2 separate regions of the Homo sapiens genome follow, and region 2 is linked to region 1. Evidence: promoter capture Hi-C in human tissues and cell types (Jung and others, 2019). All regions are on one chromosome and are shown on one strand. The core of a region is centred on a gene start or on the middle of the fragment in contact, and the rest is flanking DNA. Distances in the headings are between cores, read along the strand shown.

Region 1 (6,781 bases), core at 2,116-4,615:
AGTAGCTGGGATTACAGGCGCATGCCACCATGCCCGGCTAATTTTTGCATTTTTAGTACAGACAGGGTTTCACCATTCTGATCAGGCTGGTCTCAAACTTCTGACCTTGTGACCCACCTGCCTCGGCCTCCCAAAGTGCTGGGATTACAGGTGTGAGACACCGAGCCCGGCCCTGTTCTCCTTTTTCTTTCTTTTGCCTATTAAACCTCTGCTCTTAAAACGCACCTCCCCCTCTGGCCCTGCCCCCCCCCAAAAAAAGAGGCAAAGATTTAAAAAGTTAACAGGAAAAGACTACTTTATCACATTTAGCTTGAATGCTAAGTAGTAACATTTACTAAGGTCCACAGTTTACTGCTTACTACACAGTTTACCACTTTACTACACAATAACCCACCCTGGACTGATGGCTTCTTCAGGAACACTGAGAGAATGTAAAATACAGGAATCCTGATAATTCTGCATTCTTCGAGCAATCATTATAATCAAGCTGATGTTTTTATCCGTCATCATTGTGTATAGTTCCTTTGTTGTAATTGCTCCTTTCTCTTTGGTCTCACATTTTTTCACTCTTTTCACCATTGCTCTTTTGGGTTTTGTCTTTGGAATCCAATACATTCTCCAAAGAAACTTTAGCCAATGTGCCACCATCCTCTCTTCCTGTTTCCTGCCTTTTTTGTTGTAGTTGCTGTGCTTCCTTCTGCCTGTCCTTTTCCTCAAGTTATTTCCGGACTTCAGCTTCTTTATATCTTAGTTTAAGGCTCTCAGAGAGTCTTTCAGCTTCTTCAATGGCTTTTTTGATGTTTGCAGTTCCAAGTATTGAATGGACGTAATCCTCTTAGTGCTTATTTTCTCTGGTTTAACTTCTGTCTTCTTATTGAGGTCTTTTAGTGAAGAACTCAGGTAGAGTTCTTTAGGAACTAAAGCCACAGCAGGCATGGTGAATTATCTTTACTTTTCCACGTTCACGATAGATGCTATATTTCCTTAAAAGTAGTTTTTTCCGTGGCGTCGGGTGCGCTTCACTAACACCAGCCTTCTTGCCAAAGGCCCATCTCCCAAGAACTCGAGGGAGAATTAGCCTTGGCTACCAAGATGGAATCCAGCCCAGCTCATCATCCTTTGCCCATTTTTAAAATTTTTTTTTGGTTGTGAGTTATAGGTATTCTTTATATATTCTGTATATTAACTCCTTATCAGATGTATTATTTGCAAATTTTTTCCCATTTCATGAGCTGCCTTCTCACTCTGTTCATAGCATCCTTTGATGTGCAAAAGTTTTAATTTTGATGTAGTTAAATTTATCTGTTTTTTCTTCTGTTACCTATCTTTTTTTTTTTTTTCCCTGAGATGGAGACTCACTCTGTCGCCCAGGTTGGAGTGCAGAGGCACAATCCTGGCTCACTGCAATCTCTGCCTCCTGGGTTCAAGCGATTCTTCTGCCTCAGTCGCCAGATTAGCTGGAATTACAGGCACGTGCCACCATGCCTGGCTAATTTTTGTATTCTTAGTAGAGACCAGGTTTCACCAGGTTGGTCAGGCTGGTCTCAAACTCCTGACCTCAAGTGATCCACCCATCTCAGCCTCCCAAAGTGCTGGGATTAACATGCGTGAGCCACGGCGCCCGGCCTGTTACCTATCTTTTGGTGTCCCTTTTCAATTGTTTTGAATCCTACTTAGCCCATTTCCTATATTAAGCCTTCTCAGACAACACTGAGAACTTCATCCTCTGTACTCCCACTAGTTTCTAAGCTGCCTGAGGGCGATGACTTATTTTGCAACCTCCCTTCAAATGAGAGGCCCTACGTTATCTCCCTTGAAAAGGGTTCACTTAATAAATCTAAGTTTACAGAGTGACAGCAAATGCCATTTGCTCAGTTAATAGCTGATGAATGAACAGATGAACGAATGAATGATGACTGAACACAGTGACACACAGATACGTCTCTGTCCACTTGAGATAATCCTGACCTCCTCAGATAAACCAGTGTATGCAAGGTTCTGGGCATCTTCTGGTGGGCTCAGGGAAACTGAGAATTGGATTGTCCTCTCTAGTATATTATGAAGTTGATCATTTAAGATGATGGGTCTCTGAGCCAGAGCCTGAGAATTACTTAATTTAAAAACAGATGAGAAGGTGGCACCTGGGTCTTTTTAATCTACTTCCACTGCACATGAGGAGATGAAATAGAACTGGTACTACTTACAAGGGTTTATAAAAGTTGATTTTAGTAGGTCTGTCCTCTCAGCTAGGCAGAGAACACTTGTATTTTCAGGTATTACCCGAATTTAAGCAACAGATGTGTTCCTAAAATTAACTAACTTATTTGTTTTATGATCATTTGTTCAGCACCCAATAACATCTAACTTTCAAGAGCTTATCCTATATACATGTCAGGCACCGTGCTAGGTGCTTTAAAAGCATCTGTCTTTTAATTCCCCCAGAAATCACAAGATGATATTATTCCAATGACAGAGATGAGGAAACTGAGTCTTAAGGAAATTAAGACTTCTTAATTTCCTCCGCTCTTAATTTCCTCCGCCTGTTGGTCATACATCTAATAAGTGGCTGAGGTGGGATTCACACTCATGCATTGCTTCTTCCTAGGGTAGAATCCTTATTCAGTATGCTGCCCACTATGTGCTAGATGCTACAGACACAAAGATATCAAGCAGATATCACCACCCAAGTGCAGTGCTAGAGACAGGCACAGCAGATTAGGGGAACATCAAGGAGGGCCACCAACTCTTTATAGGTGTTTAGTGAGCTGGGAAAGTCTGAGGAAGGAGGGTTGAGCTAGGTCTTAGAGGAAAAGGAAGTTCTGGAAAAATAGAGTGGACACTCAGTTGTTCTGCCAGCCCGGCACCATGTCTGGGAATACCATCCCTCTTCTTTTGGGAACCTTCCCACCAAGGGATTCCTCCATAATCTTACAAAATCCCTGATTCTGGTTGATTGGTTTAGCACTAGATGCCAACCTAAACCAAGGCCAATCAAACCCAAACTCTGAACAGACATCCATCCTTATCTAGTGGTAGAAGTTGAAGGATGAAACCCAGGGGCTATTGGGAGCTGTTTCCCAAGTGATTTTCTTTTGGGATCAGGATGATCCAGACCCAGTTATCTAGAGATTTTAACCGGAAATATTGGATATGACCTCCATCCGGTTCCGGCTTGGGCAGCCAGACCGGACTTGCAGGCTCTTGGAGGTCGCATCCTGTCCTTCCCCCGGCAGGTAGAGTGACTACAAGTCCCGGGATGCGCAGCGCTCGGAGTCGGGCGGGGGCCGGGCGGACCTCTACGGTGACGTCACCGTCCCGGGGCGGGCCAGGGGAGGGCGGGGCGGAGGGGCGGGTCTCAAGGCGGCAGAGCGCGCTGGTGCTGATGCAGGATGGCTGAGCGCGCAGGAGCCCGGGAGGTCTGAGCCGGGCGAGGCTCGCTCCCTGCGCATCGCCTCCTCCGCCCGCCGCGTGGTCGCGGGCAGGTGGGCCGGGGGGCGCTGGGCAGGGGCGGGGCAGGGCCAGGGCAGGCCGGTCTGCAGCCGGAGGGGCCGGAGCGGAGAAGCTGCCCACCTTCCCGGGCTCGGAGCGGCCGGGGCTGCTCAGCCGGCCGGGCTCGCGATGACCTGCTGAGAAGCGTCGTCGGAGGCTGCAGGAGGCGGCCTAGCTGTGGGCGGTGCAGCTCGCGGCCTCCTCCCTCGTCGTTCCCGGCCCCGGCCCCCCACCCATCCCCGTGCCCCCTCCCTACCGCCGGCCGAGATGGCGGATCCAGCCGAATGCAGCATCAAAGTGATGTGCCGGTTCCGGCCCCTCAACGAAGCGGAGATCCTCCGCGGGGACAAATTCATCCCCAAATTTAAAGGCGATGAGACCGTGGTGATCGGGGTAAGTGGCTGGGGCGTCTGCCTTCCCTGCTGCTCCGCGCCGCAGCTGGGCGCCCCGACGCCCCAGACGCAGCGGAGGTGTTTAGGCCGCCCCCTCGGACATTCCCGCGGGGCTGGCCTCTCGGGTGGACCTGACCAGAGACCCCTCGCCCCGCGCACTATGGTTCCCTCCCGGGCGGGTGGAGAGGCGGCCGGGAGCGGCGGGCCGGGCGGGGGTGGCGGGGGTGGGGATGGGGGGCGAAGACGGGCTCGGCGCCGCCATTGTTCGCCGGGTGGGGGCCCGGGTGGGCCCATTGTTCCCCACGCTCGCCTCGCCGCGTGGGTAGTGTGTTCGGGTGACCCTCAAGCCGGGTGCCCAGGCCCCCTTTAAAGTGTGAGCTCTGCAACCCGCAAATGCTTCTGGGCATCAATCAATTCGATTTACCAAACGCCTTGCCTCTTCTTCTCACGACCCTAGCAAAAAAGAAAGAAAAAGGGGTACAGGAAAATTTCTAGTCGCGTCTCGGAGCTCCCGCGGCAGTGTAGACGCGGCTCCCCGCGGTGTTACACCTGGCTCCGCGCGCGGAAGGCGGAGGGTTGGGGGAGTACTGGTGGCCTCGGTGTCCCCTGGAGGCCTGGTGTGTCTCCCGCTTCCTCTCACGCCTGGCTGCCCTGGATGTGGAGTCCCGGCTTGATCCCTCCCCTCTGGGATGACCTCCCTCCCATGTCTGCAGACCCTCTGATGCGCCTCACGCTGGGTGGAGAGGAGGCTGTGTCCACATCTGTGGGGCGAGGGGGCTCAGAGCGCAGTAGCCCCCTGTGCCAAGAGCAGAAGTTACTTCGTGCGGCTCGGACCCCCCTCCCTCTCTATCTCCCTTCCCCACCTTTTCTCCCCCACCCCCTCCCCCTACTTAGCTCCCTCTCTGCAGCTGGGGCTGCTGGTAGGGGGAGGGAACACCAATGGATTGTAGTTCTTAAAGGAATCTGTCAGATGAAACAAACCAGCTCGGTCCCCCGCCCCTTCCCCGCCCGCTGTCCGTAGCGTGTGTGGCTGATGGTGCCCCCTTTGTATGCGAGCCGCGTGGGGAGGGACCGAGTTAATGGGAGCCTCCCGGTCCCCGCTGACACGTTCCTGGCAGCCTGCTCCAGGCTGCTGATGCAGCCTTCCCGTCCCCAGCATTGATTAAGTGATGTCATCCTGATCACTGAGCATGCTCCGACTAACCCCCTCCTCCCCTTCCTCCAGTGGCTGGTGTATTTAGGTCAAGTGATTGACAGGTGACAGTTTACCGAGGGTATTGCAGGAGTCCGCCTGGCCTTTCTCAAGCGCCAGAGGCCGACGTTTTCCAGCCCGGGCGGTCCCCAGCATCTTTGCCAAGGTTGTCTGCCGCAGTCGCAGCGAAGGGCCCTGGGGACCAGCAGGTGCCAGCTGTACCGTAAGGCGGGAGCTCTCCACGCTAGAGGAGCCTGGGCAAGGCTCTGGCCTCAGGGCTTTAACCTGTACCTGGCTTTAAAAGGCTGCTCCCTTTGACGACCTCTTCTCACCTCCCCATTTTCACAGTCATCAGGAACGTCTGACCTCCAAACGCTGTGTGGATGGGCGATCATTCTGCGAGCTGACCTATGAGGGCAGGAAAGCGGGGTTTTCTCTCTGTTTAGTGTTAAACTTGCAGAGAAGATATAAGCTACGATTATTGATGAGGAAGGAAATTCTGCAGTTAATGGCAGATAAGTGTTAGTGACATATACATAGGCAGTACCTGGGGCAGTTAGTGACTTATTTGGTTTACAGCTCTCAGCCAGTATCTGCCTACAGCCTGATCTGCTACTTTCTGAGCCAGGCTGTGGTTTAGATAGAGTGGGAGTTACTGGGGACATCTAGTCCCTGCCCCTTGGCTTGTAACAATTTTTAAACAAATAATTGTGCAGTACTGGAACATGTTCTGGCAACCCTATTTTTTTCCCAGAGGTTTTGAAGAGCCTGAAGAAGTTTTTCTTCTCCCCTCCTCCCTCCTCCCCCATCCCCTTTCCCCTCTCCCCTCTCCCTTCTCCTCCTCTTCTTCTTCCAGAACCAATGAAATGAAGTAATAAATCATCTTCCTTGACCTGTATGCAAGGCAGAGCTCCTTAATTTTAGAATTATCCTTCTTTAATATGACATTGCTATGAGTATATATTTCCTTATCTAAATAAACATATATTAGTGGCTAAACAAATTAAAACCAAGTCACCATATTAAATAAGAAGTTTAAATAAAAATCATAGATGTGAATATACACATTGCTTTTCAACCGTAAAGTAAGTTTTGCTCATCCTACTATAATCCTTTAATACAACAGTTTTCAGTTTTTCTAAGGTAAACTTTTTATTGAAATGAAGCATTCATATAGAAAACTGTTATCATAAGTATACAGTTGGATGACTTTTCATAAAGTAAATGCTCCCTGTAACCACCTCACAGACTAAGAAACAGACATTTTGGGACCCTAGAAATCCCCCTTGTGGCCCTTCCAGTCCCTAAATCCCCCTGCTTCAGGGTAACCATGATTCTCACTTCTGATGCTATTAGTTTTGCTTGTTTCTTTTTAACTTTATATTACATAAAACCATAGAGTATGTTCTCTTTTGTGTGTGGTTTCTTGGGATTAAGTGTTATGCTTGTCAAATTCATCCTCATTGTTTTGTAGTATTCCATGATATGAATATACTACAATTTGTCTACTGACTGTTGATGGATATTTGGATAGTTTCCGGTTTGGGGCTAATATGGCTAGTGCTGCTATGAACATTCGTTTATGTATATTTTGGTGAGTGCATGTACAGAATAGAAGACTGCCAGATACTGAAGGGTTTGGGAGTTGGGTTGGCATGTGCCAGGATCCTTCCCATTCCTAATTGATAATGTGGCACTAAAGGAAATG
Region 2 (6,781 bases), core at 2,127-4,626, 510 kb before region 1:
AGCCAGTTCTATAGATCTTTTTGATAATAGGAATAAACTCTTTATCAAAGCATGATCTCTATGAATCCTAGTCATTTAAATGTGGTTTTTCAATGTTACCCATTTTAATTGTTGTGCTGGCATATGTGACTGCTCTTTATGTATTGCTTTTCAAATAGATTAAGAAAAATTCACTGAAAAAGTTGTTTTCATTTCTGTCTCCCTTTAAAAGAAGTATACATATATAAAAGTTATATGTGGTAGCAGTTTTATTATAGATTATTAGGGACTCTCATTTTGCTGAGACACATATTTACTTCCTGTCCTTCACATAAAAACTTGGAAAAAGGGCAAGAAGAAATTTTAAATCCATAACTGAATAAATTCACTAGATTTCAAGGAAAATAATAAAATTATAGCAAAGATCATTTCAGGTTTCAAATATCTGTAACTGTATATTATTATGGCTGAAAGAAATTGCAAATGCAGTGTGCATTTTTCATAATCAAAATGTATTATAAACCCTCCATGTCTCTTTTATATAAATAAAAAGGATTATAATTTCAAATATCATTATTATCATATCTGTTTGCCTTTATTATAAGTGGAAGCTGTAGTTTCTGATTACCTCTAACTACTGCTGGATTTTTCCCTAAAGTGCATATATTTTTTGGATTAACAACACATTTATTTTTAGTATATGTTCTTTTTACCTGCTTCTGACCATTCAGTGTGCACATACACACACACATCTCAGAGAATAGGAAAAACAAAAGACATTTTATTAAGTAAATAATACTCTGCAAAGGTTTTATTTGGTTTACATAATAGATGAGAAGTTCCTTTTTGGGATACTGTCTTCTATTTTATGTAGGAATTATTTTTAAAACCATGATATCCTAGGATTTTTTAAAATGTATTTTGCATGTTATGATTTTCTGGTGGCTATACAGAAATCTTCCTGCTTTTTTTCCCCTATTCACAGTATTCAAAGTAGTCCATGTGACCTAGATATTGAAAATCTAGGTAGAGTGTGCTGCATTGCTGATATTTACTGTGAAACCTTAGAAACATTCTGGTACCACATGCTGGAATTACAGGGTGCACACTGTTTAATATTGCTGGTATTTTTGTGACAGTCTATATGATCATTTTTCTAAGCTGGCATTAAAATTGTTGAAAAATATTCAAAAACAAATAAAAAATAATGTTTTTATATTTCAGTTAAAATGCACATATAATCAATGTTCATTTTAAAATTTTAGCTCAGACTAGGTAAGTTTTATTATGAGTTTTCCCACCATTATTTACCTTGTATTTAGAATTATCATAATCTGCTAACTATAAAAATCTTCCCTCCGCTCCCCTCCTCTCCTTCCATGTTTTTATTGAGAAGAAAAATAAGAAAAAAAGTGCTGGGTTGGGGCCAGGCGTGGTGGCTCATGCCTATAATGCCAACACGTTGGGAGGCCGAGGCAGCCGGATCACAAGGTCAGGGGTTCAAAACCAGCCAGCCTGGCCAACATTGTGAAACCCAATCTCTACTAAAAATACAAAAATTAGCCAGGTGAGGTGGCACATGCCTGTAATCCTAGCTACTGGGGAGGCTGAGGGAGGAGAATCTCTTGAACCCAGGAGGTGAAAGTTGCAGTGAGCCAAGATTGCACAACTGCATTGCAGCCTGGGTGACAGAGTGAGACTCTGTCTCAAAAACACAAACAAAACAAAAAAAAAAACGTGTTGGATTTACAGATTTCTTTTCAGTACATATTCTTCTGAACATCAGTTGGGACACTGACTCCCCTGTTTTATTAGTATTTCCAAACAGAAATCTGTTGCAGAGCCATTTTTAAAAGGTAGGGTATATGTTGAATGACTGGCTTAACAATTTGTCCAATATTAACTAATGTAGCCTTTTGCAACATTGCCCAGGATCTAGGCTATGAAACAAGAAGGGCTCACATTATCTATATAGTCAGAGAAATAGGAACTTAACAATAGTTATTTTTAAAGACACGTTGCCAATCCCATAGTTTGGACAACAATCACTAGATGTTAATAAGAGCATCAAAATGGTGGTGGCTGCCAAGATGGCCAAATAGGAACAGCTCCGGTCTGCAGCTCCCAGCGAGATCAACGCAGAAGGCGGGTAATTTCTGTATTTCTAACTGAGGTACCCAGCTCATCTCATTGGAACTAGTTAGACAGTGAGTGCAGCCCTCCCGACTGGGGAAGCACAAGGGGTTGGGGAACTCCCTCCCCTAGCCAAGGGAAGACAGGAGAGACTGTGCCATGCGGAACAGTGCACTCGGGCCCAGATACTACGCTTTTCCCATGGTCTTTGCAACTGCAGATCAGGAGATTCCCTCGGGTGCCTACACCACCAGGGCCCTGGGTTTCAAGCACAAAACTGGGTGGCCATTTGGGCAAACACCGAGCTAGCTGCCGGAGTTTTTTTCATACCCCAGTGGCCCCTGGAATGCCAGCAAGACAGAACCATTCACTCTCCTGGAAAGGGGGCTGAAGCCAGGGAGCCAAGTGGTCTAGCTCAGCGGATCCCAGCCCCACAGAGCGCAGCAAGCTAAGATCCACTGGCTTGAAATTCTCAGGTCAGCACAGCAGCCTGAAGTGAACCTGAGATGGTGGAGCTTGGTGGGGGGAGGGGCATCCACCATTACTGAGGCTTCAGTAGGCGATTTTCCCCTCACAGTGTAAACAAGGCCATCAGGAAGTTCGAACTGGGCGGAGATCACTGCAGCTCAGCAAAGCCACTGTAGCCAGACTGCCTCTCTAGATCCCTCCTCTGTTGGCAGGGCATCTCTAAAAGAAAGGCAGCATCCCCAGTCAGGGACATATACATAAAACTCCCATCTCCCTGGGACAGAGCACCAGGGGAAAGGAACAGCTGTGTGCACAGCTTCAGCCAACTTAAAGGTTCCTTCCTACTGGCTCTGAAGAGAGCAGTGCATCTCCCGGCACAATGCTCGAGCTCCGCTAACTGACAGACTACCTCTTCAAGTGGGTCCCTGACCCCCGTGCCTCCTGACTGGGAGACACTTCCCAGCAGGGGTCGACAGACACCTCACACAGGAGAACTCCAGCTGGCATCTAGTGGGTGCTACTCTGGGACAAAGATTCCAGAGGAAGGAATAGGCAGCAGTCTTTGCTGTTCTTCAGCCTTTGCTGGTGATACCCAGGCAAACAGGGTCTGGAGTGGACCTCCAGCAAACTCCAGCAGACCTGCAGCAAAGGGGCCTGACTGTTACAAGGATAACTAGCAAACAGAAAGGAATAGCATCAACATCAACAAAAAGGAAATCCATTCAGAGACCCCATCTGAAGGTCACCAACACAAAGACCAAAGGTAGATAAATCAATGAAGATGAGGAAAAAACAGTGCAAAACGGCTGAAAATTCCAAAACCCAGAATGCCTCTTCTCCTCCAAGTGATCACAACTCCTTGCCAGCAAAGGAACAAAACTGGACAGAGAATGAGTTTAACGAATTGACAGAAGTAGGCTTCAGAAAGTGGGTAATAACACACTCCTCCGAGCTAAAGGAGCATATTCTAACCCAATGAAAGGAAGCTAAGAACCTTTTCTTTTTTTTGAGACAGAGTCTCACTCTGTCACCCAGGCTGGAGTGCAGTGGCGCAATCTTGGCTCACTGCCAGCTCCACCTCCTGGGTTCACACCATTCTCCTGCCTCAGCCTCCCGAGTAGCTGTGACTACAGGCGCCCGCCACCACGCCCGGCTAATTTTTTTGTATTTTTTGTAGAGACGGGGTTTCGCTGTGTTAGCCAGGATGGTCTCAATCTCCTGACCTCGTGATCCACCTACCTCGGCCTCCCAAAGTGCTGGGATTACAGGCATGAGCCACCACACGCAGCCTCTGAGAACCTTGAGAAAAGGTTAGACAAATTGCTAACTAAAATAACCAGTTAAGAAAAGACCTGTTCTGCAGCCTCTGCTGGTGATACCCAGGCAAACAGGGTCTGGAGTGGACCTCTATACCTGATGGAGCTGAAAAATACAGCATGAGAACTTCATGAAGCATACACAAGTATCAATAGCTGAATCAATCAAGCGGAAAAAAGGATATCAGAGATTGAAGATCAACTTAATGAAATAAAGTGTGAAGACTAGATTAGAGAAAAAAGAATGAAAAGGAACAAACAAACCCTCCAAGAAATATGGGACTATGTGAAAAGACCAAACCTGTGTTTGATTGGTGTACCTGAAAGTGACGGGGAGAATGGAACCAAGTTGGAAAACACTCTTCAGGATATTATTCAGGAGAACTTCCCCAACCTAGCAAGACGGGCCAACATTCAAATTCAGGAAATACAGAGAACGCCACAAAGATACTCCTCAAGAAGAGCAACCCAAGACACATAATCGACAGATTCGCCAAGGTTGAAATGAAGGAAAAAATATTAAGGGCAGAAGAGAGAAAGGTCAGGTTATCCACAAAGGGAATCCCATCAGGCTAACAGCAGATATCTCAGTAGAAACCCTACAAGCCAGAAAAGAGTGGGGGCCAATATTCAACATTCTTAAAGAAAAGAATTTTCAACCCAGAATTTCATATCCAGCCAAACAAAGCTTCATAAGCGAAGGATAAATAAAATCCTTTACAGACAAGCAAATGCTGAGAGATTTTGTCACCACCAGGCCTACCTTACAAGAGCTCCTGAAGGAAGCCCTAAATATGGAAAAGGAAAACTGGTACCAGCCACTGCAAAAACATACCAAATTGTAAAGACCATTGACATTATGAATAAACTGCATCAACTAACGGGCAAAATAACTAACTAGCATCATAATGACAGGATCAAATTCACACATAACAGTATTAACCTTTAATGTAAATGGGTTAAATGCCCCAATTAGACACAGGCTGGCAAATCGGACAAAGTGTCAAGACCCATTAGTGTGCTGTATTCAGGAGACCCATCTCACACGCAAAGACACACATAGGCTCAGAATAAAGGGATGGAGGAATATTTACCAAGCAAATGGAAAGCAATAAAAAGCAGGGGTTGCAATCCTAGTCTCTGGTAAAAGAGGGTTTAAACCAATAAAGATCAAAAAAGACAAAGAAGGGCTTTACATAATGGTAAAGGGATCAATGCAACAAGAAGAGCTAACTATCCTAAATATATATGCACCCAATAGGGGAGCACCCAGATTCATAAAGCAAGTTCTTAGAGACCCACAAAGAGACTTAAACTGCCACACAATAATAGTGAGAGACTTTCACACCCAAATGTCAATATTAGGTCAACAGGACAGAAAATTAACAAGGATATTCAGGACGTGAACTCAGCTCTGGACCAAGCAGACCTAATAGACATTTACAGAACTCTCCACCCCAAATCAACAGAATATACATTCTTCTCAGCACCACATCACACTTATTCTAAAATTGACCACATAATTGAAAGTAAAGCACTCCTCAGCAAATGCAAAAGAACAGAAATCTTAACAAACAAGTCTCTCAGACCACAGTGCAATCAAATTAGAACTCAGGATTACAAAACTCACTCAAAACCACACAAATACATGGAAACTAAACAACCTGCTCCTGAATAACTACTGGGTTAATAACAAAATTAACACAGAAATAAATAAGTTCTTTGAAACCAATGAGAACAAAGACACAACATACCAGAATCTCTGAGACACAGCCAAAGCAGTCTTAGAGGGACATTTATAGCACCAAATGCCCACAGGAGAAAGCAGGAAAGATCTAAAACCGACACCCTAACATCACAATTAAAAGGAGTAGAGAAGCAAGAGCAAACACATTCAAAAGCTAGCAGAAGACAAGAAATAAACAAGATCAGAGCAGAACTGAAGGAGATGAACCCTTCAAAAATTCAAGGAATTGAGGAGCTGATTTTTTGAAAAGATTAACAAAATACATAGACCACTAGCCAGACCAATAAAAAAGAAAAAGGAGAAGAATCAAATAGACACAATAAAAAATGATAAAGGGGCTATCACCACTGATCCCACCAAAATACAAACTGCTATCAGATAATACTATAAACCCCTCTATGCAAATAAACTAGAAAATATAGAGGAAATGGATAAATTCCTAGACACATGCACCCTCCCATGACTAAGCTAGGAAGAAGTCGAATCACTGAATAGACCAATAAAAAGTTCTGAAGTTGAGACAGTAATTAACACTCTACCAAAAAAAAAACCCCAGACCAGATGGATGCCCAGGTGAATTCTACCAGAAGTACAAAGAGGAGCTGGTACCATTCCTTCTGAAACTATTCCAAACAAAAGAAAAAGAGGGACTCCTCCCTAACTCATTTTATGAGGCCAGCATCATCCTGATACCAAAAGCTAGCAGAGACACAACAGAAATACTAAATCTCAGGCCAATATCCTTGATGAATATCGATGTAAAAATCCTCAATAAAATGCTGGCAGACAGAATCCAGCAGTACATCAGAAAGCTCATCCACCATGATCGAGTCGACTTCATACCTGGGATGCAAGCCTGGTTCAACACATGCAGATCAATAAATGCAATCCATGACATAAATAGAACAAATGACAAAAACCACATGATTATCTCAATAGATGCAAAAAAGGCCTTCGATAAAATCCAACACCCCTTCATGCTAAAAACTATCAATAAACTAGGTATTGATGGAACGTATCTCAAAATAATGAAAGCTATTTATGACAAACCCACAGCCAATATCATACTGAATGACCAAAAGCCGGAAGCATTCCCTCTGAAAACCAGCACAAGACAAGGATGCCCTCTGTCACCATT

Evidence for each region. Contacts are between HindIII fragments. The study calls those that stand out against the background at their distance.
Region 2: a contact is called between a fragment that was not itself captured here and the fragment with the promoter of KIF5C in region 1, in 1 of the 25 tissues and cell types used here (H1 embryonic stem cells).

Annotation. Positions count from the first base shown.
Region 1 is chr2:148,871,862-148,878,642 of GRCh38, forward strand. It overlaps KIF5C (kinesin family member 5C), which reads left to right and starts at 3,366. Exons shown (of 26, transcript NM_004522.3): 1 at 3,366-3,882. The coding sequence starts at 3,757. KIF5C-AS1 (KIF5C antisense RNA 1) reads right to left here. Exons shown (of 4, transcript XR_001739733.2): 3 at 5,151-5,481; 4 at 1,136-4,334. It also overlaps the pseudogene USP8P2. RefSeq lists a silencer at 3,190-3,659 and enhancers at 4,032-4,610, 4,611-5,190. The HindIII fragment of the contact is 19,635 bases long and covers 1-6,781 here.
Region 2 is chr2:148,359,663-148,366,443 of GRCh38, forward strand. The region is part of intron 4 of MBD5 (methyl-CpG binding domain protein 5); the gene reads left to right. Among named protein-coding and RNA genes, the nearest start is that of EPC2, 280 kb to the right of the region's middle. RefSeq lists an enhancer at 2,391-2,929. The HindIII fragment of the contact is 8,189 bases long and covers 1-6,781 here.